6 separate regions of the Homo sapiens genome follow, and regions 1, 2, 3, 4 and 5 are each linked to region 6. Evidence: promoter capture Hi-C in 16 types of primary human blood cells and fetal thymus (Javierre and others, 2016). All regions are on one chromosome and are shown on one strand. The core of a region is centred on a gene start or on the middle of the fragment in contact, and the rest is flanking DNA. Distances in the headings are between cores, read along the strand shown.

What was found. Contacts are between HindIII fragments. The CHiCAGO score rates a contact against its expected background, and 5 or more counts as called.
Region 1: a fragment that was not itself captured here is called in contact with the fragment with the promoter of ERLIN1 in region 6 in 1 of 17 cell types (endothelial precursors); the score reaches 5.1 in endothelial precursors.
Region 2: a contact is called between a fragment that was not itself captured here and the fragment with the promoter of ERLIN1 in region 6, in 1 of 17 cell types (endothelial precursors). The highest score is 5.3, in endothelial precursors.
Region 3: a contact is called between a fragment that was not itself captured here and the fragment with the promoter of ERLIN1 in region 6, in 2 of 17 cell types (fetal thymus and endothelial precursors). The highest score is 6.6, in fetal thymus.
Region 4: a fragment that was not itself captured here is called in contact with the fragment with the promoter of ERLIN1 in region 6 in 3 of 17 cell types (endothelial precursors, fetal thymus and megakaryocytes); the score reaches 9.9 in endothelial precursors.
Region 5: a contact is called between a fragment that was not itself captured here and the fragment with the promoter of ERLIN1 in region 6, in 1 of 17 cell types (M2 macrophages). The highest score is 5.5, in M2 macrophages.

The regions. Positions count from the first base shown.
Region 1 is chr10:99,798,231-99,802,824 of GRCh38, forward strand. It overlaps ABCC2 (ATP binding cassette subfamily C member 2), which reads left to right. Exons shown (of 32, transcript NM_000392.5): 8 at 977-1,140; 9 at 2,156-2,333. Among named protein-coding and RNA genes, the nearest start is that of ABCC2, 18 kb to the left of the region's middle. The HindIII fragment of the contact is 2,993 bases long and covers 1-2,932 here.
Region 2 is chr10:99,871,981-99,876,876 of GRCh38, forward strand. It overlaps DNMBP (dynamin binding protein), which reads right to left. Exons shown (of 17, transcript NM_015221.4): 17 at 3,597-4,896. Among named protein-coding and RNA genes, the nearest start is that of DNMBP-AS1, 53 kb to the right of the region's middle. The HindIII fragment of the contact is 1,074 bases long and covers 992-2,065 here.
Region 3 is chr10:99,850,388-99,854,828 of GRCh38, forward strand. ABCC2 (ATP binding cassette subfamily C member 2) reads left to right here. Exons shown (of 32, transcript NM_000392.5): 31 at 215-409; 32 at 1,115-2,207. The coding sequence ends at 1,244. Among named protein-coding and RNA genes, the nearest start is that of ABCC2, 70 kb to the left of the region's middle. RefSeq lists an enhancer at 1-159. The HindIII fragment of the contact is 3,592 bases long and covers 759-4,350 here.
Region 4 is chr10:99,833,016-99,837,538 of GRCh38, forward strand. ABCC2 (ATP binding cassette subfamily C member 2) reads left to right here. Exons shown (of 32, transcript NM_000392.5): 24 at 1,365-1,520; 25 at 3,076-3,275. Among named protein-coding and RNA genes, the nearest start is that of ABCC2, 53 kb to the left of the region's middle. RefSeq lists an enhancer at 952-2,151. The HindIII fragment of the contact is 2,011 bases long and covers 1,772-3,782 here.
Region 5 is chr10:99,760,621-99,765,341 of GRCh38, forward strand. No RefSeq gene overlaps it. Among named protein-coding and RNA genes, the nearest start is that of ABCC2, 20 kb to the right of the region's middle. RefSeq lists a silencer at 579-779. The HindIII fragment of the contact is 6,331 bases long and covers 1-4,721 here.
Region 6 is chr10:100,183,039-100,187,318 of GRCh38, forward strand. ERLIN1 (ER lipid raft associated 1) reads right to left here and starts at 2,991. Exons shown (of 11, transcript NM_006459.4): 1 at 2,476-2,991; 2 at 718-799. The coding sequence starts at 2,588. It also overlaps a transcript of CHUK not described here. RefSeq lists a silencer at 2,889-3,038 and an enhancer at 3,209-3,358. The HindIII fragment of the contact is 3,606 bases long and covers 2,073-4,280 here.

The DNA of each region.
Region 1 (4,594 bases), core at 186-2,685, 390 kb before region 6:
GAGGCCAGGGCAGTTGTCCTGGCAAGGGAGACCCATCAGATGGGACCTCAGTGAAAGACATTGTGAGAGAGTATCACTGGTAGGCTGAGAAGCTGGAATTTGGGGCAAGATGAGACTCAGGAGGACATAATGAGGAGGCCAAAGCATAGACAGAGGCTGGTGACTGAGTCGTAATGCCCCATGTATTAGTTTCCTAGGGCTGCCATGATAGAGTACCACAACTGGATAGCTTAAAACAGAAATGTACTGTCCCCAGCTCAGGAGGCCAGAAGGCTGAAGTCAAGATATCAGACTCGCTCCCGCTGAAACCTGGAGGGGAAAATCCTCTCTTCCACCTTCTAGTGTTCCCCAGCAATGCTTGGCATTCCTTAACTTCTGGATGCATCACTCTGACCTCTGCCTCCACCATCACAGGACCATCTTCTCTCTGTGTCTGTCTCTTCTCTTCTTGTAAAGATATCAATCATACTGCATTAGGGCCCCAGTGACCTCATCTTAATTTGGTTACATCTGCAAAGACCTTCTTTCGAAATAAGGCACATTTTAAGGTATTGGGGGTTAGGGCTTCAACATAGCTTTTGGGGGTGGGGATACAATTCAACCCATAACATCTCACAGCAACCATGAAAAGAACAAGCATGAAAAGAACAGAAAGGACCTCTCAGCATCATGCCCAGGCCCTTCACTCTCAGGACTGCCCCTCAGGCCCCCACGCAGATGGGTCTCTCTTTTTACATGGGACTCTTACCAGCTTAGTTGCCTGGTTTTCTAATCTAAAATAGATTACAAGTATCAGTTAGGAGCGGGAGAGTGGAACAGTGAAGGCAGCTAGAAGGGCAGAAGCAACTAGGCCAGGGAGAGATGATCAAAACCTGTACAGAGAAGGCCACGGGGCTCACAGGCTGACCACCCTGGAGCTGCTCAGGCCAGTAACAGACATAACTCTGTGGACACTGTTGTTTGGTTTTGTACCTAGGAAGATGTTGAAAAGAAAAAAAAGAAGTCTGGGACCAAAAAAGATGTTCCAAAATCCTGGTTGATGAAGGCTCTGTTCAAAACTTTCTACATGGTGCTCCTGAAATCATTCCTACTGAAGCTAGTGAATGACATCTTCACGTTTGTGAGTCCTCAGCTGCTGAAGTGAGTCTCCAGGCCTCAGATGGTCCTTTCAGGGCCTCCTCTGCCACCCTCCTTTTTGCCACTGTGTATGCAAGCAGGAGCTTTTCTTAAATTCCCATTTTTTAAAAATGCTCGTAATTTTCTTCCACCTTAACCTTACAGCATTGTGTTCATGAAGACCGCAGGCAGTTTTCAAGATGTATGATGATATGTACTTTAGCCTCTCTCTTTTCCATGTCTGTCTCCTCATAGGGGGCCGGGTAATTGTTAGGGGCTGTTTCTTGTTAAACTGCTAAGGGCTGAGCCAGATCCAAGTGGCGGGTAGCATACCCCTGGAGAGTAACTGACTTCATCTCTCCATCGCAGCCTTCCACGGGAGGTTCAGGTTAATCTTGACAAGACTTCACAATCTGTCATGACCTGTGGAGTGAACCACCTGCAGGGAAAGACAGGGCCAAAGCATTGCAGTGACAGCTAGGTGGAGCATTTCTGTCATTATCCATTCTCACAGCCATGGGTTATCAACCCTAAGCTCTTGCTGCTCATCTCCAAGTAAAAGCCAGAACGCCAGGCTGGACATGGTGGCTCATGACTGTAATCTCAGCAGTTTGGGAGATTGAGGCAGGAAGATTGTTTCAGGCCAGGAGTTAGAAACCAGGCTGGTCAACATAACGAGACCCCATCTCTACAAAAGAAAATAGTTAGCTAGATGCGATGGCGTATGCCTGTAGACCCAGCTATTTAGGAGGCTGAGGTGGGAGGATCACCTAAGCCCAGGAGTTCGAGGCTTAATGAACTATGATCCTGCCACTGCACTCCAGCCTGGGCAACAGAGTGAGACCCTGTATCAAAAACAAAACAAAACAGAAAGGACACTGGTAAAACTGTAGACTTAGGTCTTTCAAAGGCTTTGGACAATTCTGGTCACTTTTGTTACCTACAGTGTAAAGATAGTGTAGTCTAGCTGGCTGTGCATGAGGAGAGAGGCATCCTTGGAGGCCTTATGGGTATAACTAACTTGGCTTTTCTCTGGCAGATTGCTGATCTCCTTTGCAAGTGACCGTGACACATATTTGTGGATTGGATATCTCTGTGCAATCCTCTTATTCACTGCGGCTCTCATTCAGTCTTTCTGCCTTCAGTGTTATTTCCAACTGTGCTTCAAGCTGGGTGTAAAAGTACGGACAGCTATCATGGCTTCTGTATATAAGAAGGTAAGCAGAATACGGCAGGTATCACCAAAGAAAATCCCCTCAGTAAATATGAGCATTGATTCCAAGGTTGAGGAAAATGTGATGGAAATGGTAACTTATCTCAACACTTAATGTTGACTGGCCATACAGCCTCCTTTAGATGTTTCTTTGGAAATTAGATTTTGAGAAGTGTGTTCACAGACAATGGGTGGAGAGGCCAGGAGGGAAAACGTACTCCCCAGGGAGAAGCCTGCAAGCTGTTCTGGTGCTCAGGATCCACCTTGCAGCCCTGAAGGCTTGGCTACCCATCCATCTCTTCCTGCCTCTCTTGACAAGGTGAAATGCCTTGGAAAAGAATATAAGGTCAGAAAAGAAGCTGGTGAAGGGTCAAACTCTTAAAACCACCAACATTTAACTCAAATACTTAATGAAATCCAGCTCAGAGACCTGGTGTATCCATCTCAAATTGCAGTCTTGCCGGAGCTCCACCTCCCCAGACCAAATTTCACCTAGCAACTTCTTTTTCTAACCTTTAGTGCTAACCTAAACCTCCTCTGTCTGACTTCTTTTTTCAGTTTGTAAATACATTCATGCTGATTACTGAGTTCTGCAGACCTGGAAGCTTTTTCATTTCCTTAAGATGATTTTGCTCATCTTCCCTCTGATACATTGTTTGTTGTTGTTGTTGTTTTGTTTTGTTTTGGTTGTTTTTGAGATGGAGTCTCGCTCTATCACCGAGGCTGGAGTGCAGTGGTGCAATCTTGGCTCACTGCAACCTCCATCTCCTGGGTTCAAGCGGTTCTCCTGCCTCAGCCTCCCAAGCAGCTGGGACTACAGGCACGTGCCACCACGCCCGGCTAATTTTTTGTATTTTTAGTAGAGATGGGGTTTCACCATGTTAGCCAGGATGGTCTCGATCTCCTGACGTCATGATCTGCCCACCTCAGCCTCCCAAAGTGCTGGGATTATAGGCATGAGCCAACGCGCCTGGCCGATACATTGTTTTTAATGGTTAACTTTCTCAAGGAAACTGTATGTTCCTCATGTCCTCCATACCAAGATGAAGTCCCATTTTGTTCCTTAAGAAATGAAAATACAGTAGTTATGATCAGTGACTACAGGCTTGAGGAGAAAATTCATCCAGGAGGAGATAGGTTCCAATCTTTTTATAAGTTGGAACACTAGTTGACTTTCTTCCTTTTTTTCTTCCATCACTGGAAAGTTCCATCATAGTAACTTCTCTATTACAGTTCCTACTTTTCTCCTTTGCTTTCCTCTCTAGAAACACCACTGTGTCTTTGTCTTCCCTGAGTAGATGTTGGTTCGTTGAGAGACAGTGGCAGATAATCCAAGTGTCTTTAAATCAGAAGTCTAGTCAAGTCCTTTGAACTCCCAGATACCCCCCAACTGGAATTTGCCTTCCTCCAGTTGATTTTTAAAATCTCCTTATTTCTTCTGGAGATACTGAGTTTCTGCTGGTTTACAAGTTATGAGGTCACTAACCAGCCTGTCTCAGCCATTGCTAGTAAAGTACACTTCTACAATTTTTTCATAATTGTGATTATTCATTCGCACTATTTTGGTTCTTAATATTCCAGGTTTTGCAACTATTACAATTAATAAAGAGATTTATAAAATAGAACCCTCAATGACACTTTTATTCAAATAAATATCGCTATTAGAAGAGTGGAAGAAAATTACTAATTTATATGTTTAGACAATGCTTCACTACTTATGAAACATTTTTTACATTCATTATCAATTCACAGGGCTATTGCCCTGTGAAATAAGTACATTATACCTATTTTACAGAGAAAAATCAGGCTTAGATAATTTCAATGCCTGCAAACACATAGCCAGGAGTTGTCCCCAGACAAGGGCTACTGGGACTGTATTTATTGAAAATAGAAATATATAGTGATTACCTTGAAGGGCAATTAGATGTTGTTAGTTGTTGTTTTTTTTTTTTTCCCCTCTTCCATACCAAAGGGAAGGCATAGCAGTGGGTTGATTCCTCTAGAACCTTGGTGGTCTAACATTTTAGAAAACTTTCTTCTTTTTACTGTACAGCCAAGAATCCTAATATGTTCCAAAGAATGTATTGGTGGATTAAGATGACAGTAATGCTTCTAGGAGGAGATGGAAGTAGTATGGGCCACTTGTAGCCTGTACACTGTCTTTGTGGGAATTACAAGGTGGCTCTCCTTCTTCTGGAAAGATGCAGTCTACTCCAGATGGTGCCTTGGTGGCATAGTGCAAGTTGGTTTCAGTGCTGTGGTACA
Region 2 (4,896 bases), core at 279-2,778, 310 kb before region 6:
TTATTGTAGTTTTATATCTTGTTCCTTTTTTCAAGATTGTTTTGGCTACTCTGGGTCCCTTGCGTTTCCATATGAATTTTAGGATCAGTGTGCGAATCTTCTTAACTTGGAGCAGATGCTATAGAAGACTCCCAATAGTGAACTGAGGACCAAAATTATCCAGAAGCCTCTACATGGTGAAGGAAAGATTAGGGAACCAGGCAGGTTATTTACTGGTACTAGGTGTATTTTGGAAATTTCCTAAAGAGTTGTTACCTCTGGGGGTGAGGGTACTCCCTACTGCCATGCAGGCCTCAATTTCCAAATGGTTCAGTCAAAAGACTGGATTTAGAGGATTAGAATTCCAAGAAATCCAAAGGTTCAGGAACAGAGGCAGCCAGGGCAGGACTCCAGACAGCTCTATGTAGACCAGGCCCTGGAGGAGAGTTGAAGGTTATGTGTTGTTTCCACATTGACCTAAAGCAATGGAGACTGGCTTAGACTCTTACTGCTATTCAATCCTTCCTTTAAAGGGCCAGTGTCCTCTTTTGATGAAGGCTCCCACAGAACTGACTAGGAAGGGCCATTCAATGGCTTAGGGCCAAAGTCCTTTTGGTTGTACACATGAGCTGGTGTGTTCTCAAGTGGGTATATAGCAAAGGGTTAAATACATGAGCTTTGCTCTCAGGGCTGGGATTGAAATCTGAGTCTTACTATTTCTATCTGGGTAAACCTGGTTGAGTTTCTTATCCTCTGAGCATGAGTCATTCTGTTTTTGAGACGGTCTCACTCTGCTGTCCAGGCTGGAGTGCAGTGGTGTGATCACGGCTTCCTGCAGCCTCAACCTGCTGGGCTCTGAGCATCAGTTTTGTTACTTCTACACACCTTGTAGTGTTCTTTTGTTGGGCGGGGGTAGGGGGTGACATAGGATAATGCAGGGTAAGCCTTGGCACAGTGCGTGGCTCAGTGAGTGGAAGATGCTATTTTGGACAGAACCCTGAGCTTCCCAGAAAGCTTACAGACTCTCTTGAGGACATTGTGTGCCATGGGATGTTCCTTGGAACCAAGGCACTCATATTAGCATCATATATAATACAAAATAACTAAGTAGAAACGTCTGGCCATTCCCTCATATTCTGAGAGTCTTCTGTTTGTTTGCACTGTGTGGCCATGAGGCCTTTGTTCTGGTGTGATGATGCTGGCACTTGGGGTAGATGCCAGTGCAAGAACTCAGTCATTTGACTTAAAAAGGGGAGTAGGGGACAGGGAGGAAGAGGGGAAAGCTCGGCAGTAGAAAAATGGGCGGAGAGGAATATTGAGGGAGAGTTGGACTGATGCCGGAAGAAGTAGAAGTCTTGTGTCGATGTTGAAAAGCAATATTTCCAGAAAGTTCTGCCTTAGATGTCATAGGTGGGGTTGTCGTCTTTCATACCCACAAGAAATCTTCCGTAAAGGTCTGTACTACTCTTCATGGCTTTGAAGTAGGTTTTGTGCTTTAAGAAAGTGTTCTGGATGCATAGAGATGTTGAGATAGGACAGTAAGGCAAGAGGACAGTGGCTGAATCTTTTTCTTACCTATATCTGATGTGATTCCTTCACGCTAACCTCCTGCTGGATCTGCAGAGCTGGAAGGGTAATTTGACGGTGGGTGCTTTGGGTGGAGAGGGTGCTGTGGGAGCAGTGGGTACAAGCTGGTAACAACCAGCTCCTACAAGACACAAACTCCATCCAGGACTGTATTTCCGGGTTCTTCTTCCTCGTGGCTTGAATCAAGAGGGGAACATAAGGGGTCAATGATTTGACCCACAGTGAACTCAGTAGTAAGCACCAAGCCTGCTGAAATGCTTTGCATGTATTTTTTCCCCTTTCCGGCTGGATGGTCCATTGGCACCCATCACTTCTCTGCTGTCTCCTAAGCTAGAAACCTGGGATCCATATATCCTAGATACATAGATAGGTTATCTAGAATAGTAAGGGCTTGTAATCCTAGGCCCTTACTACTCCTCTATCAAGAATGGGCAGGTGTGTTGCCTTGAGCAAATGTTAGTCACATGAGTGTCCACAGTGGTCTCAGGCATTCTCGTGAAGCTTCTATGCTACAGGCAGGCCTGGGGGCAAGTGTGCAGCTACCAGCCTGGAGTCTGGGGCTGTGAGGACCTGCTGGGCACTGGGTTTTACTGGGGTAGTGCTGAGGTCCAAGGTTGAATCTGGGACTCGCTTCCCTCTCTTCCCCCCATGCAGAGGGTGTTCCGATGTGTGCTGCGCTGCCTGCGGCTGAGGGAGGGGTTGGCACAGGTCCTGTGAACATGTCCTCCCTGCCCTCTCCAATGCATCTTTTCTTAATATTTGCATGCAACACCCAGGTGCTGTCATCTCTCACATGGTTTTCTTAGCGCTTAGGGTATTTTCATGCACAGATAGTTTAAGATGTTTCCATGGGGGGACAAGCACTGAAAGTCCTCCTCCAGTATCTCGCAGCTGTCCTGTTGCAGCATGGTGCATGTATTAACTCACGGAATCTTCCTATCAACTCTACAAGGTGGATGCTATTACTATCTCTACCTCAACCAGGGAACTGAGACAGAGGTGGGTACGTTGCCAAGGTCACAAAGCTGCCAAGTGTCAGAAGCCAGACAGTCTGGCTCCAGAACAAGGTGTACAGACTCAGCCTGAGCCTGCAGGCCCGAGTTTCAATTCACAACCCCTCAAAAACTTGATATATGACTTGGGTGAGTACGAATGTCTCTGGACCCCATTTTCCTAGTCTATCACATGAGAGTAGCATAGGTGACTTATCAGCTGCTTTCCTGCAGCCTACCCAATTCAGTGATTTCTATTCCTTAACAACACTGGGTGATCGCTTTACTGTCACCCACCATACTGTCCTCAATCCCACCTCTGCCACTAGCCCTGCCACTTCCTTCCCTGCCCCCAACTGCCTGAGCTGCTGCTCCGTGACCTTGTTAGATAACCTTGTGTATCAGTGTCCACATCTGCAATATCAGGGAAATACTTATCCCCTAGAGATCCCAGCTCTTCTGTTTCGTTAGAATTTCACAGGACAAGATGAAAATAGAGGCAGTCACCTGCAGCATGGACATATTTTGAGTATACAGAGATTTTTTTTTTTTTTTTTTTTGAGACAGGGTCTTGCTATCGCCCGGGCTAGGGTACAGTGGTGTGATCTTGGCTCACTGCAACCTCTGCCACCCAGGTTCAAGCAATTCTCAGCCACTTGATTAGCCAGGACTATTGGCATGCAGCACCATGCCCGGCTAATTTTTGTATTTTCAGTAGGGATGGGGTTTCACCATGTTGGCCAGGCTGGTCTCAAACTCTTGGCCTCAAGTGATCCGCCCACCTTGGCCTCCCAAAGTGCTGGTGGGATTACAGGTGTGAGCCACCACACTCGGCCTGAGTATATAGAGATTGTTGGAATCTTTGACAGAATGACTTTGGGCCTGCATTTCTTCAGTTAGCCTCTCCCATTCTCCCAGATCTGGACATCACTCATTGTCAAGAAGGCCTCCCCAGAAGCCCAGGAAAAACGTTCAGCTTAAACAAACAAACAAAAAAACCCGTTCAGCTTAAACATGGAAATCAAGAAAACATCCAAGGCCATTAGAAATGCTTTTATTTATAAAAGAACTACTTAAATATAAACATCTCTACATAGAAACACTCTTCACAAAAGGACTCTTGCATTACTGCCTTCTGACCACGACCAGCAGACACTGTGGATGTTAGGACTCCACGGTGTCTCCCGACTCCCAGGATTTTAAGGCTAAATGTGCACTTGGAGGAACAGGGGCTGTAAGGCTATTTCTTCCCTTTCTTTTAAAAGACAAATTTCATGGTTTCCCATTCCAAGATAGGCTTCATAGCTGGGGAAGATCTTAAGATTCTTGGTCTAAGGGGTAAGCAAATATCTTCCTGAGACTGGGAGGTATGATCAGGCACTTGGGAATCTGGCTTTGAATGTCATCTCTGAAGCATGGAAGTTAGTGGTGAAAAAAATCTTATTTCCAAGTCTAGGATAAGCTACTTCTGGAATGGCTTATCCCAATTCAAGTAAGTCACAGGTGTTATGTTGTCTGCATCTATGGATGTAACTAAACAGTCATTAGGGTGCTTGGATGAAGAAGAAAGACATCCAGTCTTCCATTAGGCTCAACTGGTTTCAGCTCAAAGCAGAACTAATACTTTTAATGGAATGGCTGGAGCTCTCATACTGTTACTCTAGGAAAATCTATCAATTATTGAGTCCAGGGCAGGGGGGCCACCAGACATCACAGACTGTGTAAAGACCATCAGAAAGGTGTCATTGAGGTTGCGGTATGGTGGCTTACACCTGTAATCTCAGCAGGGAGGCGGGAGGGTTGCTTGAGCCCAGGCGTTTAAGACCAGCCTGGGCAACATAGCAAGACCCCATCTCAAAAAAAAAAGCGGGGGGGCAGTGATTGTACCTAACAAGGGAAGAGAATCTTTCAGATGAAGGGTCAACAGAAAATAAAGACCCTAAACACTTCTAAAAGTAGAACGCAGTTGAATTTTGCATAACTAATCTGGGAATGGAGTAAAAGAAACAAGGTTACAGAATGTAGTGCTTTAGGGACTTTAGAAATTAGGGGCAGTATGTATGAGAATGTGTGCTGGACACTGGAGGTGTCCCAGGAGCTTTGAAGCACTAGGTTTGGTTCAATCCCGACAAACTCCCAGCCATGTGCAAGCACTGCCTCACGGGGTGCCCAGAGCCATGAATTCTTTTCATCTGAGTTGGCATCCGGTCAGCTGAGCATGGAACATGGGGCCACCCCAAACGCCGTACAGCACAACCATTACCAACACTGTCTATTGCTAGAGCACAGCTTCCTGCATACATAGGACACTGGGCTTCTGACTGCAAGTTTCTCCTTT
Region 3 (4,441 bases), core at 1,305-3,804, 330 kb before region 6:
AATTAAGTACTTGGGGTGGGTCTTCAATTGGGAAAGTTTGAAAAACGATGCTCACAGCAGCAAGGTACAGCTAGTTGAAGAGGCCCAAACATTCCAGGGGAATTTTGGAGGGGGGGTTTTGAAAGTCTGATCTGGAACATGAAAATGGTCCCCCTGCCCTGCGTCTTTCCTTGGTCTTTAGGAGCTAACACATGGTTGCTTCTATTGGCTGCAGCATAGGCCAGAGGCAGCTGCTGTGCCTGGGCAGGGCTCTGCTTCGGAAATCCAAGATCCTGGTCCTGGATGAGGCCACTGCTGCGGTGGATCTAGAGACAGACAACCTCATTCAGACGACCATCCAAAACGAGTTCGCCCACTGCACAGTGATCACCATCGCCCACAGGCTGCACACCATCATGGACAGTGACAAGTGAGTGTAGGGGGACAGGGCTTGACACGGATGGCTTAACCCTTGCTCAACAGTAACAGTGTCAGCCGGGAAACACCTGATGGCAGAAGGTTTAACCACCACCACATTACTGATGAAGAAACTGAGACTTAGAGATGTCAAGTAATCTGGCCAAAATTTTACATCACGCAAATGAAAACGAACAAGGTTAAGGGAACTATTCATATCTTGAGGGCAAAATAGGAAACTGTGTGTTGTAACAATTAACTGGGTATGGGGAGGTGGAAGCTCAAGCCGTGAGAGGCAGATGTTGACCATAGACCTTCCTAACTGTCCTGAGCCTCAGCTGCTGCTCTGTAAAACAGCCAGAAGCTTTCTATTCCTTCCAGCTGTGTCATATTACAATCAAAAGTCAGTAATCTTAGAAAGCTGTTTGGAGATGATAGGCACCCTTTGTAAACCAATCTATCCTTAAACAATGTGCACTTCTTTTAAAAACTCATGTAAATGGACTCATACTGCCTGTATTCTTCTATTACTTGATTCTTTTGTTCAATATTATTTGCAGAATTCATCCATGTTGATGTGTGTAGCTGTGGCTCATTGATTTTCACTGCTTTGTAGCCTTGTCTGACTATACCACAACTTAGTCCTGGTTATTCTTATAAATGCCTAGACTTGAGATGCTGCTTTCTAAGACTTTTATTTCTTTCTTCCTTGTTTCAGGGTAATGGTCCTAGACAACGGGAAGATTATAGAGTGCGGCAGCCCTGAAGAACTGCTACAAATCCCTGGACCCTTTTACTTTATGGCTAAGGAAGCTGGCATTGAGAATGTGAACAGCACAAAATTCTAGCAGAAGGCCCCATGGGTTAGAAAAGGACTATAAGAATAATTTCTTATTTAATTTTATTTTTTATAAAATACAGAATACATACAAAAGTGTGTATAAAATGTACGTTTTAAAAAAGGATAAGTGAACACCCATGAACCTACTACCCAGGTTAAGAAAATAAATGTCACCAGGTACTTGAGAAACCCCTCGATTGTCTACCTCGATCGTACTTCCTTGCTACCCACCCCTCCCAGGGACAACCACTGTCCTGAATTTCACGATAATTATTCCTTTGCCTTTCATTTCTGTTTTATCACCTTTGTATGTATCTTTAAACAACATATACCCTTTTTTACTTATGTAAATGGACTGACTCATACTGCATACATCTTCTATGACTTGATTCTTTTGTTCAATATTATATCTGAGATTCATCCATGGTGATGCAAATAGGTGCATTATTTTTTTTCACTGCTCTGTAGTCTGGCATTGTATGAATACAGCACAATGTATCAGTTTTAATATTGGGGATCATTAGCATTATTCTCAGGTTTTTAAAAATTATAAGCAGTACTACTATGGACATTCTGGTCTACATCTCCTGGCACATATGTAAGAGTTTCTCTAGGGTATAACCTAGGAATGGAGGGTATGAACATGTTTACATGCACAAACTAGCTGATGCCAAACTGGTAATGCCAACTGAAAACATTGCTGTCAATCTGATGAATATGAATTGATGTATCAATGAGAATTTCATTTGCATTTCCCTAGTATCTATTGGGGATGAATATATTTTCATGTTTCTGGGGCATTTGCATTTCCACTTGTTTTTTAAATATTGTGTCTGATAATTCCAATGTCTGGATTCTTTGTTTATCTGTTGTTTCTGTTGGTTTTTACTCATGGTATTTTATTTCCTTGTATGTCTTGTGAATTTTTATTATAAGCTCGTTCTCCTTAAAACTTTATCTGTGGACATTCTTTGAGGCCTAAGTTGACCGTGAATTCTTCCTAAGGGAATTGGGAATGCTTTAGCCTGCTGCCTGGGGCATTACCCAGAACCTCTTTGAATGAAATTCTTCACTAAGGGGTTTCAAACCACAGTGCAACTTCAGACCACAATCCTGTACAAGAGCCAGCTTGTGATTTACAAATTCTCCAGGGAAAGTGACAGGTTGGAGATAGGCATGGGGTTTTGTTGTTGTTCTTGTTGACTCCTGCATTCTGCATGGCAGGACCTAGGCCTCTTTACCTGTACATTGCAGGTATAACCCTTTCATGACACAGGTTCATCAGAGGGTTTTAGTCTGCACTGTGGCAGACCTTGGCTTTATCTCTTGCCTTGACCTCCTACATTATCAACAAAGTGAGAGTTTAAGATCTCCTGGGCAGGAGATTTCAGAAGCCAGCCTAAGTTTTGGGCCTTCCTCACCTCCTAGGGCCTTTGTGTCAGGTTCTTTTGGGTTCTTCATATTCCTTACCTCCCTTTCAGTGATGTTATGATAAAGATTTTGATTTATTCAGCATTTCACGGTCTGTTTAGTGAGGTGCTTAACATTGAACTTCTGAAATGAAGGGCATATAGCTAGTGTAAGCATACCTCTGGTTTGCCCTGAATAGTTATGGGTTACATCTGTTTTCCCAAAACAATAATAGCTCCCCCTTTCACACACGCACAAAAATTGTCTCATTTGTATGATAAACTTGTGTGCCTCCTACACATAGCCCTGTGAATTCGATTTTGAATCACAGCATGGATGGAGATCAACAAAGTTGTATAGATATTGAAGTGTTGGCTGGGGGGGCGCTATTCATGGAGAATCCCCTCCTTAATTCTGCAAACCAGATCTAGTACATTGTGAATATTCTATAATCATTGGCTATTTTTTACAGCTAGCTTTTCAGATCTATACCTGCTTATGTACATGAAATGTAGCTCCTGTAAATTGCAGATTAGTGTATATTAATCTAAGATGCCATCAACTGTAAAATACCTGTTATTTTCTATACCACGAAGAAAGGATACTGCCAATTAAACTTTGGTATGCATTGTTGGTAAAATGCATCCTATTTGTGGAAAAAAATTAGCATTTTAAGATTAATACAATACAATACCTGTAAAGCTCTATAAGAGCTAAGTCATGTCCTTTATTTCTGCTATTGATCCTTGTTCTTTTTTCCTGATTGTTCCAGTCTGTATTGCTCTTTTAATCCAATATCATCGTCATCATCATCAGCATCATCATCATCATCATCACTTCCCTTATCTCTTTTTCTCAACTATTTCACTGCTAGGTAGCTAACTACTGTTTTTACCATCTATTCTTTCTAATCATTAGAATTTCAAAAAACTGCTTTTTCCTTTTTTTTAGTGGTGTTTTTAAAATTTATTTATTTATTTTTTAGTGTTTATTTTGAAAGCACATTCCATACACGCGTACTTTCCAACTTGCTTCTTAAATGAGTTTTTAGATATAGAGCATTTAGAGGGGCAGGAGGAACTTTGGAAAACAAAGGAACTATTTACGCTGACTGCAGAAGCCAGAGAAATGCAAGCTAGGTAAAGCACCAACAGTAAAAGTGAAACTAAAGGAGAAGCCTGATATTTTCTCAATTTGTTTCTCAAACAAAATGGTCCAGGCTGATGTCGATATAGTTATCACCAGAGAACTTTGAAGATTATCAGCCATCACTTATTTATTTAGCTTCCAGTAAATGTCTGACACTGTGCCAAAAATTTTTTAAAAGCTATCTAGGGCGGGTGCTGTGGCTCACACCTGTAATCCCAGCACTTTGGGAGGCTGAGGTGGGTGGATCACCTGAGGTCAGGAGTTCGAGACCAGCCTGGCCAACATGATGAAACCCCGTCTCTACTAAAAATACAAAAATTAGCCAAGCATGGTGGCACATGCCTGTAATCACAGCTACTCTGGAGGCTGAGGCAGGAAAATCACTTGAACCCGGGAGGCGGAGGTTGTAGTGAGCCGGGATCACGCCATTGCACTCCAGCCTGAGCAACAGAGCAAGACTCCATCTCAAAAAAAAAAAACAAAAACAAAAGCTACCTAATATAAACTAAATAAAGATTACTTTCCATTGTGGCCTAATTAATAACCCTTTCACAAGCTTTATTTCACTTACCGATTTCAGGGACAATTTTAGATAACTACCTAAAACCTATACATTCCCAAATTCCACCATATCTTCACTGTTTT
Region 4 (4,523 bases), core at 1,527-4,026, 350 kb before region 6:
ACAGTTTTTAGCCCTGTGCTTATGGAGCAGCTCTGGACTCTTGTTTGTTGGTCTTGGGGCAGACATAGAAAGTATAGCTCACAGTCCACAGCCAGGTTCTGGGGACACAGTAACTGCTTCAAAAGTGGGCCATTAACTGGTCCCCCTGTGTCATCTTCCTCTGGGGCAGAAACAGTGGGCATGATGTCACTAGAGACAACTTCAATGGCCTTTCTGCTCTTTACTAGAACCTAAAAGAACACTCAATTTTGGGTGAGAAATTTCTCATAGTAATTTTGTAAAGATCACAGTTTTCCCCATGTTGTAATATATATAATCTTCTGGGAAAGAGAACACAGAGGTTTTCTGTGAGTTACTTAGGCAACAGTCATAGTTTGAAGACTGCTTTTGCATGAGAAAGGAAACTGTCATTAATTATATAGTATGTTTCGTTGGGGAGGTGGCTCAGACCTATTAAGGGGAGTTTGATCAAGGGGCCTCTGGGATCAATGGCTGAGTTAAGAGGAGATGGAGTGGAGGAAGGAAAGATGGAGACTCTGTGCCAGGTAAGGATCAAAAGTAATCTGCATAGAACTGATAACTGGTAGGGATTTCTTTTCTCTGCCAACTGTGGGTATAGTTATTTGCATTCTGATAGGACTTTGGGAAAGGTAGGTTAGACTCAGGAGTCATCCATGATTCAGAGCTTTCCTGGAAGACCATTATCCCTGATACAGTTTGAGAAATTCCAGAGATAACTTAAACTCACTTTGGTACTCACATATTACCAATCATAGAATCAATATAATCCCCACAAATTTAGGCAAGGGCAACCCAAAATATAAACCAAGCTTCTTGAGTGTTCTCCAAACCATCCATCCATTCATTCATTTTTCTTATTTGTTCATTTATTTCACATGACACGAAGGCAACATGGCAGTAAGACACATCTGTTCCCGCTGGGTTCCTTGGTTAGAACACTGTCCAGGCAGGCTCACATTCAACCCCAGCTCCCTTCCCCTTGGTCCTCTATGCTTAGCAGAGGAAGCAACTTCCTGAGTATTTTTAGTAGAGATGGGATTTCACCATGTTGGTCAGGCTGGTCTTGAACTCCCGATCTCAGGTGATCCACCCGCCTCGGCCTTGCAAAGTGCTGGGATTACAGGTGTGACCACCACGCCAGGCCTAAATGAAGAAATTATGGAAATGAAATTGGTTATTGGGGCAAGCAATGCAGCCTATTGCAAATGAACACAATGAAATGATTACATGAAGGAGTACTGGGAACACACAGAATCCAACAGATTCCTTGCTAGAACTAGGAAGATGTAAACTATCTTAGGAAGACCTCAGTGATGGTGTATCTCTCCTAATCGTTTTCCTAGGATATTTCCACAGTGGATGACACCCTGCCTCAGTCCTTGCGCAGCTGGATTACATGCTTCCTGGGGATAATCAGCACCCTTGTCATGATCTGCATGGCCACTCCTGTCTTCACCATCATCGTCATTCCTCTTGGCATTATTTATGTATCTGTTCAGGTAGGTTTGGAAATGGCTAAGTCATCCTTCCTTCCTCTCTATCTATAAAAGCCCAGCCTCTTTCCTGAGAATCTTCTCTCTGATTCATTGCTAGTCACTCACTCCTCCCCTCAGCAGCTTTGCCATTTAGTCATATGTTGACATACCCAGGAGCCCACAGGCCACTGTCTGAAGCTGAAGTGAGAGCATCAATGGGTGCACCATTTATGGCAAATGTCACCCTAACTGCTGCCCACCCTTCACTCCCTGGAAGCTTAGGTCGGACAGATTTACGTTTGGATCCAAGACTACTTTGAGATTGGCTCTGGACACAGTCTTGCAGCTCCATAAGAACCCCCATGACGATTAGGTCGGTTCCAGAAGAGCCATGCTATGGTGCTTCCTTGGTTGACTTTGGACAGGCATAGCTGCTTGGAGATGTCTCTCAGCAGCAGCTGGGTCTTTCTTTTTACTTCGGCAAAGTTCTAGTTTCACTGGGGTGTCTGTGGGTGGTTTAGGCTCAATTCCAGTGTATTCTTCGAGGGAATGTGCAGCTTGAAAGCAAAACAGGGAAACTGGAACGAGTGGAAGGAACCCTATTCCCACAATAAAATGGATGAGGGAAGGGGAGGCTGTGGAGGAACTCTGGTCCCACCAGCTGCTTTTGTGGTGAATTGTTTGCCTGGGGAAACAATTCTGAAGACACTGATCAGGGGCTCGTGGCCTTGTGGCCTGCGATTGGCGGCTCGCCCCCATGTCCGTGTACAGTTCCTCAGGCACATTGTCACCATAGCGGCCTTTTAACTATTAATAACAAGCCAACAAACAAGAAGCAGGGTTATTGGAGGGAACATCTGTATGTCCATGTATAACATTTTGCATCCCGTCTCTCCAACGCCCCACTCTTCCCAGGTTTCAACAAATCCTCACAGAATCTAGTAGCAGCACGGACCCATTCCACTCCCCCTTGCCCTCAGGCCACAGGGTTCTTCCCTGCATTGGATTCTACCCTGTTCCAGTTCTTACCCCCTCAGCACTCTGCATACCTCCAGAATTCTCTGTACCTTCACACACCACCGAGGCACAGTTTTGGTCACTTAATTGAACAGATTCTTCCCTTTTTACCCAAACCTAGGCATGCCTTTTTCTGGCCATTTCCTGCCCATCCCCACTTTACACACCCCACGGGCCCCACTGCCTTTACAAAATCCTTTTGGGGACCTTTTCTCTAATGAGTACAGAAACTGTCACATGGATGATAGCCGTAGATCTGGGGGATATGGGTTAGGCTGACGGAACTCCTTAGGAGGTTTGGAGACTCAAAGCTCTGAGGCTGCAGTGTGCTCTCCTCACGTTCACCCCACTCTGTTCCCCACCAACCCCAGTCTTCTCATTGGTCTCCTCCTCGGAGCCTCTCATCATTCTGCTCCCAGACATGGCACTGCAGGCTTTTGTCTTGTTCAGACGTAAGCTGTGCCCATCAAGGGGAAGAATGCTGGGTTGTGGCCAGAAAGGAGGAAGATGGTGGATGCCTCATGACTGCGGGACTGGCTGATTCTTTACTTTTTGTGTCCAGATGTTTTATGTGTCTACCTCCCGCCAGCTGAGGCGTCTGGACTCTGTCACCAGGTCCCCAATCTACTCTCACTTCAGCGAGACCGTATCAGGTTTGCCAGTTATCCGTGCCTTTGAGCACCAGCAGCGATTTCTGAAACACAATGAGGTGAGGATTGACACCAACCAGAAATGTGTCTTTTCCTGGATCACCTCCAACAGGTGAGGCTTCCCCTGGGTATTTACCCATGTGTGTACTTTGGGGTTCTATATGTTTGATATTAGCGGTGGGAGGGCAGGCATGGCTAGTGGTGTGAAATTCACTCTGGCCACACACACTGTCATGCTATGTAAGTGGAGAGAAGAAAGCATGAGCTTTGGAGTCAGAGACTGGGTCCCCATGACAGCTCTGCCGTTTACCAAGCTGGGTGAATTGCCTTGACTTCTCTAAGGAGAATCTCCATTTCTTTGTTTTTGTAATGGCCAGAACACACCCTATCTCACAGGGTTCCACCTGTCTCATGGTGGAAGTCAAATGACATTTGTGAGCATTTTGTAACCCAGTACCAAATAAGTGCTGGGTGAACTGAACATCCTCTGTTTACTTTTCTGAGAACGGATGTGAGATTCTCCATAGTCATGACACTCTTTCTGGGTAGTGAAGGCAGTGGAGGTTGGAGAGAGGAGAGTTGGGAATTTTTAGGTAAGACCATTGATGACAGAAAGGGAAGCTTCCGTCTTGTGAACAGGGTGAGCATTATTCTCCAGTATCCTTAAGCCCTGGCAAGCAGTATGTCCTGGAAAGAGGAAGATCTTTTTCAGGAAGAAAAATTCTTGAGTGGCTTCCAAAGTGTCTTGAGGCGCTAAAGATGCTCAGCATTATTTGGAATGTGGACAGGTCAGGAGTTTGATTGTAAAGATATTTTATTTCTTAGAGACTTTCTAAGAAGGAAAAGGCATATAAGTAAATCTTATTAGACCTTCACTGTAAAGGACATATCATATTTATTCATACACATGCTGGAATTATTGGTGCAGACATTTAAATACATTTTCTTTGAGAAAGTCCTTTTTTTTTTTTTTTTTGATGGAGTTTCCCTCTTGTTGCCCAGGCTGGAGTGCAATGGTGCAATCTCAGCTCACAACAACCTCTGCCTCCTGGGTTCAAGCAATTCTCCTGCCTCAGCCTCCCAAGTAGCTGGGATTACAGGCATGCACCACCACGCCCAGCTAATTTTTTTTATTTTTAGTAGAGACGGGGTTTCTCCGTGTTGGTCAGGCTGGTCTTGAACTCCTGATCTCAGGTGATCTGCCCACCTTGGCCTGCCACAGTGCTGGGATTACAGTCGTGAGCCACCACAGCTGGCCTGGGAAAGTCCATTCTTTTTTTTCTTTTTTTTTTTTTTTTTAAATTTATTTTTTTATTGATAATTCTTGGGTGTTTCTCACAGAGGGGGATTTGGCAGGGTC
Region 5 (4,721 bases), core at 769-3,268, 420 kb before region 6:
CATCCTCCTAGGCCTCTAGGCCTTTGATAAGAGGGGTAGCCTTGAAGATTTCTGAAATGGCTTCATAGCCTTTTTCTCATTGTTCTGACACCTGGCTCCCTTTTATCATTGCTAATCTCTCTAGCAAGTGATTGGACTCGGCTAATCCAATATTCTTGGATTCCTCTCCTGAAAATGCCCTTTCCTTCTCTACCACACGGCCAGGCTTCAAATTCGCTAAATTTTTATTCTCTGCTTTTAAGTTCTGACTTTAGGTCATTCCTTTGTTCACATATTTGATTGTAGGTTGTTAGAAGCAGCCACACTTTGTTTTTTTTGGAGACAGGGTCTTGCTCTGTCACCCAGGCTGGAGCAGTGGCAGGATTATGACTCACTGCAGCCTTGATCTCCTGGGATGAAATGATCCTCCCACCTCAGCCTCCCAGTAGCTGGAACTACAGGCACATACCACCACACCCAGCTAATTAAAGAAAAAAAAATGTAAAGTTGGAGGACTCACTGTGTTGCCTAGGCTGGTCTCAAACTCCTGGGCTCAAATGATCCTCCTGCCTCAGCCTCCCAAAGTGCTGGGATTACAGGCATGAGCCACCATGCCTGGCCTCACCACTTATTGAACGCTTTGCTGCTTAGAAAGGCGTGGCCTTTACTGTCTGTATTTCTGTCAGCACTTTGGCCACAACCGCTCACACAGTCTAATAAATCCCAAACTTTCCCTTATCTTCCTGTTTTCTTCTGAGCCTTCTAAACTCTTCCAACTTTTGCCCATTACCCAGTTCCAAAGCCACTTCCACATTTTCAAGTATCTTTATAGCAACCACCCTCTCCTTGGTACCAGTTGTCTTCCTTAGTTCATTTGTGTTGCTATAAATGCCTGAGGCTTTGTAACTTGAAAAGAAATTTTATTTGGCTCACAGTTCTGCAGCCTGTACAAGAAGCCTGGTGCCAGTATATCCTAACCACAACATCATTGATTGGACCAATCCAGAAAAAGGGTTCTGATTGTCCAGGCCCTCTTGTACAGTCAAAAGACTGGCAGCTGGTGTTTATCTTTTCCTTTGAAGGCTCAGGGGTTAGCTGCTATATAGACAAGGGCTGTCCTAATAATAAACCTGACTGCATTTGCACAAAACAGTAGAGTTAGCTTTTCCCTTTCTGCCTTAAATCTTGATGCTCGATTCTCTTCCTTACTAATGTGTTTTGTGGCATTTTTTCCTTACTGATAAATGTGTTTTGTGGCATTTTTTTGTGGCAAACTGATGCAGACAGAAAACCAAATACCCCATGTTCTCACTTATAAGTGGGAGCGAAACATTGGCTACATATGGACAAAGACGGGAGCAATAGACACTGAGGACTACTAGAGTGGGGAGAGAAGGAAAGAGGGAAGGGCTGAAAAACTACCTATTGGGTACTATGCCAACTACCTGGGTGATGGGTTTAGTGATACTCCAAACCTCAGCGTCTTGCAATATATCTTTGTAACAAATCTGCACATGTATCCCCTGAAGAGTACAAGTTGAAAAGAAAAAAAAAAGCCCCTGTAGGCTGGGCATGGTGGCTCATGCCTGCAATCCCAGCACTTTGGGAGGCCAAGGCGGGTGGATCACTTGAGATCAGGAGTTCAAGACCAGCCTGGCTAACATGGCAAAACCCCGTCTCTAGTAAAAATTTAAAAAGTAAAAAAAATTAGCCAAGTGTGGTGGCACGCACCTATAATCACAGCCACTCAGGAGGCTGAGATAGGAGAATAGTTTGAACCTGGGAGGTGGAGGTTGCAGAAAGCTGAGATCGCGCCATTGCACTCCAGCCTGGGTGATGGAGTGACTCTGTATCAAAAAAAAAAAAAAAAAAAAAACTATAATAAACATGTTTATTGTATTAAACATGTTTCCCTGAGTTCCGTTAGCTACTCCAACAAATCAATCAAACCTGAGGAGGGGGTTGTGGGAATTCAGATTTATAGTTGGTCGGTGACAAGCACAGGCAAAATAATCTGGGGCTTGCAATTGATGTTGGAAGTTGGCTGGTGAGGAGTGGGAAGTTGGGGGACAGTCTTGGGGACTGAGCCCTCAACCTGTGGGATCTGATGCTATCTTCAGGTAGATAATGTTGAGATTGAATTAGAGTACACCGAGCTGGTGTCTGCTGCAGAAGTGATTGCTTGCTTGGTGTGTGTCAGGGAGACCCTCACTCCCCACATTTGGTCATAAAAGTCCTCTGTGTTGATTGTTGTGAGAATAGAAAAAACACTTTGAGTTTTCCTACTCTCGGAAAGATCAGTATATGAAATAAATTGTATTGCTTTACACTAGCAACAAACAATCCTAAAATGCAGTTAATAAAAGTTCAGTTTATAATAGCATCAAAAAGATAAAATGCTTAGGAATAAATGTAATCAAAGAAGCGTAAGACAGGCCAGATGCAGTGGCTCACACCTGTAACCCCAGCACTCTGGGAGGCCGCGACGGGTGGATGATGTGAGGTCAGGAGTTCCAGACCAGTCTGGCCAACATGGTGAAACTCTGTCTGTATTAAAAATACAAAAATTAGCCAGGTGTGGTGGTGGGCACCTGTAATCCCAGCTACTTGGGAGGCTAAGAAAAGAGAATCACTTGAACCTGGGAGGCAGAGGTTGCAGTGAGCCAAGATCGCACCACTGCACTCCAGCCCAGGCAACAGAGCAAGGCTCAGTCTCAAAAAAAAAAAAAAAAAGTGTAAGACAGTATACTGAAAACTACAAAACATTGTTGAAAGAAATTTTAAAAGACTTAACAATGAAGAAATAAATGGAAAGACATCCCATGTTCATAGATTGGTAAACTTACTACTTTTAAGATTCCAACACTCTTCAATTGATCTACGGAGTCAATGTAATTGCTAGCAGAATTCCAACTGCCTTTTTGTGTAAAAGTTGACAAATTGATCCTAAAATCCATCTGGAAACGCAAATGCCCCAGGATAGCCAGAAAATCTTGAAAAAGAAGAACAACATTTGATGACATACTTCCTGATTTCAAAACTTACTACAAAGCTATGGTAATCAAGGCCATGTAGTACTGGCATAAAGATAATTATATAGCTCAATAGGATACAATTGAAAGTCCAGAAATAAGCACTTACATTATAGTCCATTGATTTTTGACTAGGATTCCAAGACAATTCAGTGGGGGAAAGAATGGTCTTTTTAACAAATGATGCTTAGACAACTGGATATCCACATGCAAAAGAATAAAGTTGGACCCTTACCTTACACCAAATGCAAAAATTAACTCAAAGGGTCATAACCTAAATTTAAGAACTAAAAAACCTTTTAGAAGAAAACGGGTAAATCTTTGTGACCTTTGGGTTAGGCAAAGCCTTCTTAGACATAACATCAAAAGCATGAATGACAAAAGAAAAAAATTGGATAAATTGGATTTTATCAAAGTTGGAAACTTTTATGCTTCAAAGTGGCATCAATAAAGTGAAAAGACAACCCTCAGAATGGAAGAAAATCTGCGAATCATATATACAATGGGGTCTTGTATCTAGAATATGCAAAGAACACTTACAACTCAACAATAAACAATAACCATTTCCCATCCTGGCTAACATGGTGAAACCCCGTCTCTACTAAAAATACAAAAAATTAGCCGGGCGTGGTGGCGGGCGCCTGTGGTCCCAGCTACTCCGGAGGCTGAGGCAGGAGAATGGCGTGAACGTGGGAGGCGGAGCTTACAGTGAGCCGAGATCGTGCCACTGCATTCCAGCCCGGGCGACAGAGCGAGACCCTGTCTCAAAAAAAAAAAAAAAAAAAGAAAATAACCATTTCTCCAAAGAAGGTATACAACTGACCAACAAGTACATGAAAAAATGCACATCATTCGGGAGGCGGAGCTTGCAGTGAGCCGAGATTGCGCCACTGCACTACAGCCTGGGCAACAGAGCAAGACTCCATCTCAAAAAAAAAAAAAATGCACATCATTAGTCATTAGGGAAATGCAAATCAAAACCACAATGAGATACCACTTCATACCCGCTAGGATTACTGTAAGCCAAAAGTCTGACCATATCAAGTGTTGGATAGAATGTGAAGGAACTGTAACCTTCATATGCCACTGATGGGAATGTAAAATGGTGCCACTCCTTGGTAAAACAGTCTGGGAATTACTCAAAATGTTCAACACAGAGTTGCCATATGACCCAGCAATTCCACTCCTAGGTATGTACTCCCAGAGAATTGAAAACATATGTCCTCACGAAAACTTGGTACATGAATGTTCATAGCAACATTATTTATCTCTTAGAATTAGAAAACAGTTTTGTAACTAACTCCAAATGAAATAAATCAGTCAAAGATTACCAATGCTAAAACCGTTTGGTAAATGTTGAATGGGAGCTGAATATCCACAGTGCCAAAATATCACCCTATAGGTTACTTGCTAGTCATAAAAATAGAAAATGTCATAATTGACTATCTGGTTGTTTTCACCTTAACCCAGTAATCAAACTTAACATTACTAGTGGGAAATTATACTGCTGAAGGACAGAATACAGGTTGGACCACTTGGAAAGCAGCTGAAATATTGAAAACTCTTTTTTTTTTTTTCCAAGACAGAGTCTTGCTCTGTCGCCCAGGCTGGAGTGCAGTGGCGTGATCTCGGCTCACTGCAACCTCTGCCTCCCGGGTTTAAATGATTCTCCTGCCTCAGTCTCCAGAGTAGCTGGGATTACAAGCGCAC
Region 6 (4,280 bases), core at 1,741-4,240:
AGATTAAATAACACAGAATTTTCCTGAGTCCTGAAAAATTAGCAGCAGATGGCAGACAAACTTCTGAATCCAAAGATTTATGATCACACTGGGCTTGCGAAAGTGGTCACAGCCTAATCCTGGTTTTGTCATCTTGTTACATTGAAAGATACTTATTTTATTGTCTCCCATGGCCAAGACACTTTTCGAGGATTAGACACTTATTTCAAATATCCCGGGATGCCATCAAAATATAACATTCACTAAGGTTCCACATAAAATTGTGCTTAATATACCAGGCAAAAAAACATGAGGCAGAAAGGCTGTGTATAAAAATTTTGATCCTCCATGTTAACAGTAGCCCAGGAGCCTGCCTCTATGGAAACTAAACACTGTTCTAAACCACATAATCACTGGTTTGTATGTCTAGTTGTGTTTCTAATTCTTACTTTTATTGTGACAGCAGCAACAGAAAATTTGCTATATACCACGATATAGATGGTAGAAGTCAGTCCTTCCAAGCTTCCTGGTTCATACCTTTAATTCATTTCAAGTAAGTGAGGTGGTTTAACATCATAACTTGTGTTGTAACAACTGTACTCTGAACGTTAACTTCTGCATTTAAGTAAATACCACCATCTGCTTAAGCAATAAGGAAATCTATCTCCACCCACAAGTGTGGTAACTCCTGTCATGCCTGTCTATCTGGTATGGAGGCTTCCCCTAGGAATCACTCACCTGCACAGATCTGAACGTAGTAATGAAAGGCAACATGATATGATAGCCTGGTCCACTGGGGCTAGTTAGTAAAGCTCCTCCCCTGCAAAAAGATGTTTCAATTTGACAAAATTATAAAAAGAAAAATTATCTTTCCAAATCTAAAATGCTATAATAAATACTCACTCTTGCTCATGCTGCTGACCTACTAAAGCCTCACTAATATGAATTGCTCATAATGAACAACTGCTTAAAATACCTCCACACCTAAAAAGGGAAAAAGATCAAATTAAACTGCCAATGTTACACCTTGTTTCATAAGCTCAACCAACCGTACCTCTGGGTCTCCAGCACTGCTCTAAGGTTCAAAGGATTCTCCTCGGTCTTTAACCTTCTGAGAAATATTTGTTTAAAAAATTCTAATGGCTTTCAGTAGAGGTACATTAATAGTACATAACAAGAGCCAAATCAAAATATATAATACATTTAATCACCAGGTTGAAAAAAAGACAATGCAAACTTTGAAGTAAAGAGAAAATTTCTGAGGCTTATAATTCTTTCGATCTATCTACAAGGTAATTAAAATACTGGGAACATAAAATTTCTATATAAAAACAAAAAATTAGCATGAAAAGATGAAGGGTGACAAGACTATACAAATAAATAGCATAAGGGCTTGTTAACCAAATCCTGGAATGTGAAAACTATGAAAGCAAGCCCTGGAAATTATAAAAAGGAGGCATTTGGGGAGCAAAGAAAACAAAGTCCTATTTTGCACCTTGTAAATTCATAGAACTTAGCTACCGGTCTTGAAAATATAAACACATTTGCAAGGTCATAATAACAAGGAAAGATGAACTGTTTGAGGTTCATTACTAATTCTTTGAGTCATTCCTTGAAATGTCCTTTCTCTGGTTTTACTGTCAGAAAGACAATGCTTTTAAACTGGAAGGAAATCTGGACTAATCTGTAATTTCTTATGTAGAGCTCCATCTGCTAAGATATACCATTAAAATTGCTCTTTTTCTAGGATTCAGGATGGATTTGAAAGTAGAAATATCAGTTTTGAGGGATAGTGGAAACAAGCAAAAAGTTGACGCTCTTTTTGAATACACCATTATCCCAATTTCTCCACAAACTGGCCTCTCTTACTAGTCTGTATCAAAAGGAACTTGTGGTAATTAGGCTGAAGGAAAAGCTAAGCGAGCTCAACAAGAGAGCAACAGCTCCCACACCACTCCTGTCCCCAACTTGAACAGCAACAGTAAGGAGGGAGGAGCATGGCCCATCAGTGTTGTGCTTATGTCCCTGGAGGTCCAGGGACATAAGCACCATCACAGTCATCATGGTGTTACAAGACGTAACCAGACACTGGAAGCTTTTAAATGAAAAAGTCTAAGAAACAACCATAAACATACAGCATCTACAGCGGCAAACTAAAGCCTGTACAGTTGAACGAACTATAATTTATCCATCTCTTCAGTTAGAGGTAGAGTGACTACTTCCTTTCTTCCTTCTTCATTTTTCTACAAATAATTGAGTTTGCTGTGTATAGGAATAACCGTAGGGAGACTTAATCTCTGCAACAAAACGAACATAGCACTAAAACTGTCCAACATCTGGAGGGTGCTCCGCAAAAGCCCGCTTCGACCCCCGTGCTCTCCCTAGAGATGGGACATGCGCCCCCGAACGTTGCAGAGGGAACAACTTCCCAGACTCCACTCTGGAGTACCCTTTTAATCTGCTCTAGAGCCCTAACTGACTGCACATGCCGCTCACCTGTAGTACACAGCCAGATGGCCCTCCTCAATCTTGTGGATGGAGGCGTAGAGCAGGACAGCCACCAACCCCACCACTGCAGCCACCAGAACCCGGGCTTGAGTCATATTCATTCTCGTTCCTCCTGGGAGCGGGAGAAAAGGACCCTCAGTCCCGTGAGTGACAGGTCCACCCCCTCCAGTTTCTACCCTCTCCCTCCGGAAACTTGGCGCTCTCTCGCAGGCTGAGCCGGGGAGTCCAGTACCCCTGTCCCCTCATTCTTCCCTTCTGGCTGAGCCCGCTGACCCCTTGCCAACTCCTCCGCCCCCGGAGGCCAGTGGGCCGCCCCTGCTCGGTGAGCTTCCTGAAACTCCCTCTCCCAAGGGTCGCTCCCGGGTGGAAGGCACTAACTGAGAAGAAGCCCAGCCGCAGGCTCGCGAGGAAAGCCGACCCCTCGGCCGCGCCTCACCGATCAGTGACGCATCGCCCCCGCCCGCACGTGCAGCCGACTCCCGCGCCGAGCCAACCGCCGCCAACAGCCGGCCCCGCCCACTCGCCCAGCACTGCGGCTGCGCGGGGACGCACACGGCGTAGCCCCGGCCCGCGGCTAGTGAGACGGGGAGCGCATGGGACAAAATTCTCCTAGCCGCGGGCCGCGCAGGCTCCTTTGGAGGCAAGTCGCTTTCTGTACACTGCTGGTTAACTGCTTCGGAAGAGGACAGCCCGCAGTCTGGAGTGAGCAGCGAAGCAGAGAAAAGGAGACGCCCTTTCGGACAAGGGACTGGTTGGTTTGTTCTTGTGCAGAGAACCCACTCGCTCACTCTCAAACGGTAGCTGTTCGGTTTATTTGTCCTTTTGCAGTGTATGCGGAGCCCCACTGTGTGGCACGCACTTGCTTCCGGCAGAGATCCTGCCCTTCAGGAGCAACTAAACTTGTTGCAAATAAAGTGCTGTGAAAGTTCAGAAGAGGAAGATATTAGATATAACGGCATCATTCTCTCGTTTTTTAAGTGTTCCTATTATGTGCCAGAATGCTGGTCCAGTGAGGGCTTTATGAAGGCCATCCAGACTACAGGAACAGAATTGCTAAGCACATGGGGCGGGAGGCGGAGGGAATCCTCCAGGGAGACCAAAGTAAGTACTTCAGTTTCCTTGAAGGCTTGTGTGATGGGAAGGAGTGCTATGGTAGGCGTCACTACATATTCTGTTCGTTTTAAATTAAAAAACCATGGGCACATATTGCCAAAAATAAAAAAGGGAAGGAAAAAGGTATAGTTGGGAGATAGATGAATACAAGAGAAATTAAGGACATTAATGGTTTAAGCCTTGAAAGGCTAGAGGTGGAACTATAACTGGACAAGGTGGACTAGGGTTGTAAAGTCCTCTAACCCAGCGGACGGGGTGGGGGTGTGTGTGGGTTGGGGATGAAACTGTTCCACTTCAGATCATCAGGCATTAGATTCTCACAGGGAGCCGGCAAACCTCACATGTGCAGTTCACAATAGGGTTCGCGTGCCTATGAGAATCTGATGCCACTCGCTAATCTGACAGCAGGCAGAGCTCAAGGCGATAATGCTCACTCGCCCGCCGCTCACCTCCTGCTATCCGGCTTGGTTCCTAACAGGCCACTGTCTGGTTCCGGTCCGCGGCCCAGGGCTTGGGGACCCCTGCCCTCTTGGGTAGGGAAGTATGGGAAAGCAGTGCTTTAGGGCCAATGAATCTATAAAACGGCTGAAAGTGGAGACAGACTGTTGGCAAGGAAGTCAAGTGGTTAGGAAACTGCAGGCCCAGGGTTACTTAGTAGTGGAAGTAAGAAGAGGTAAATA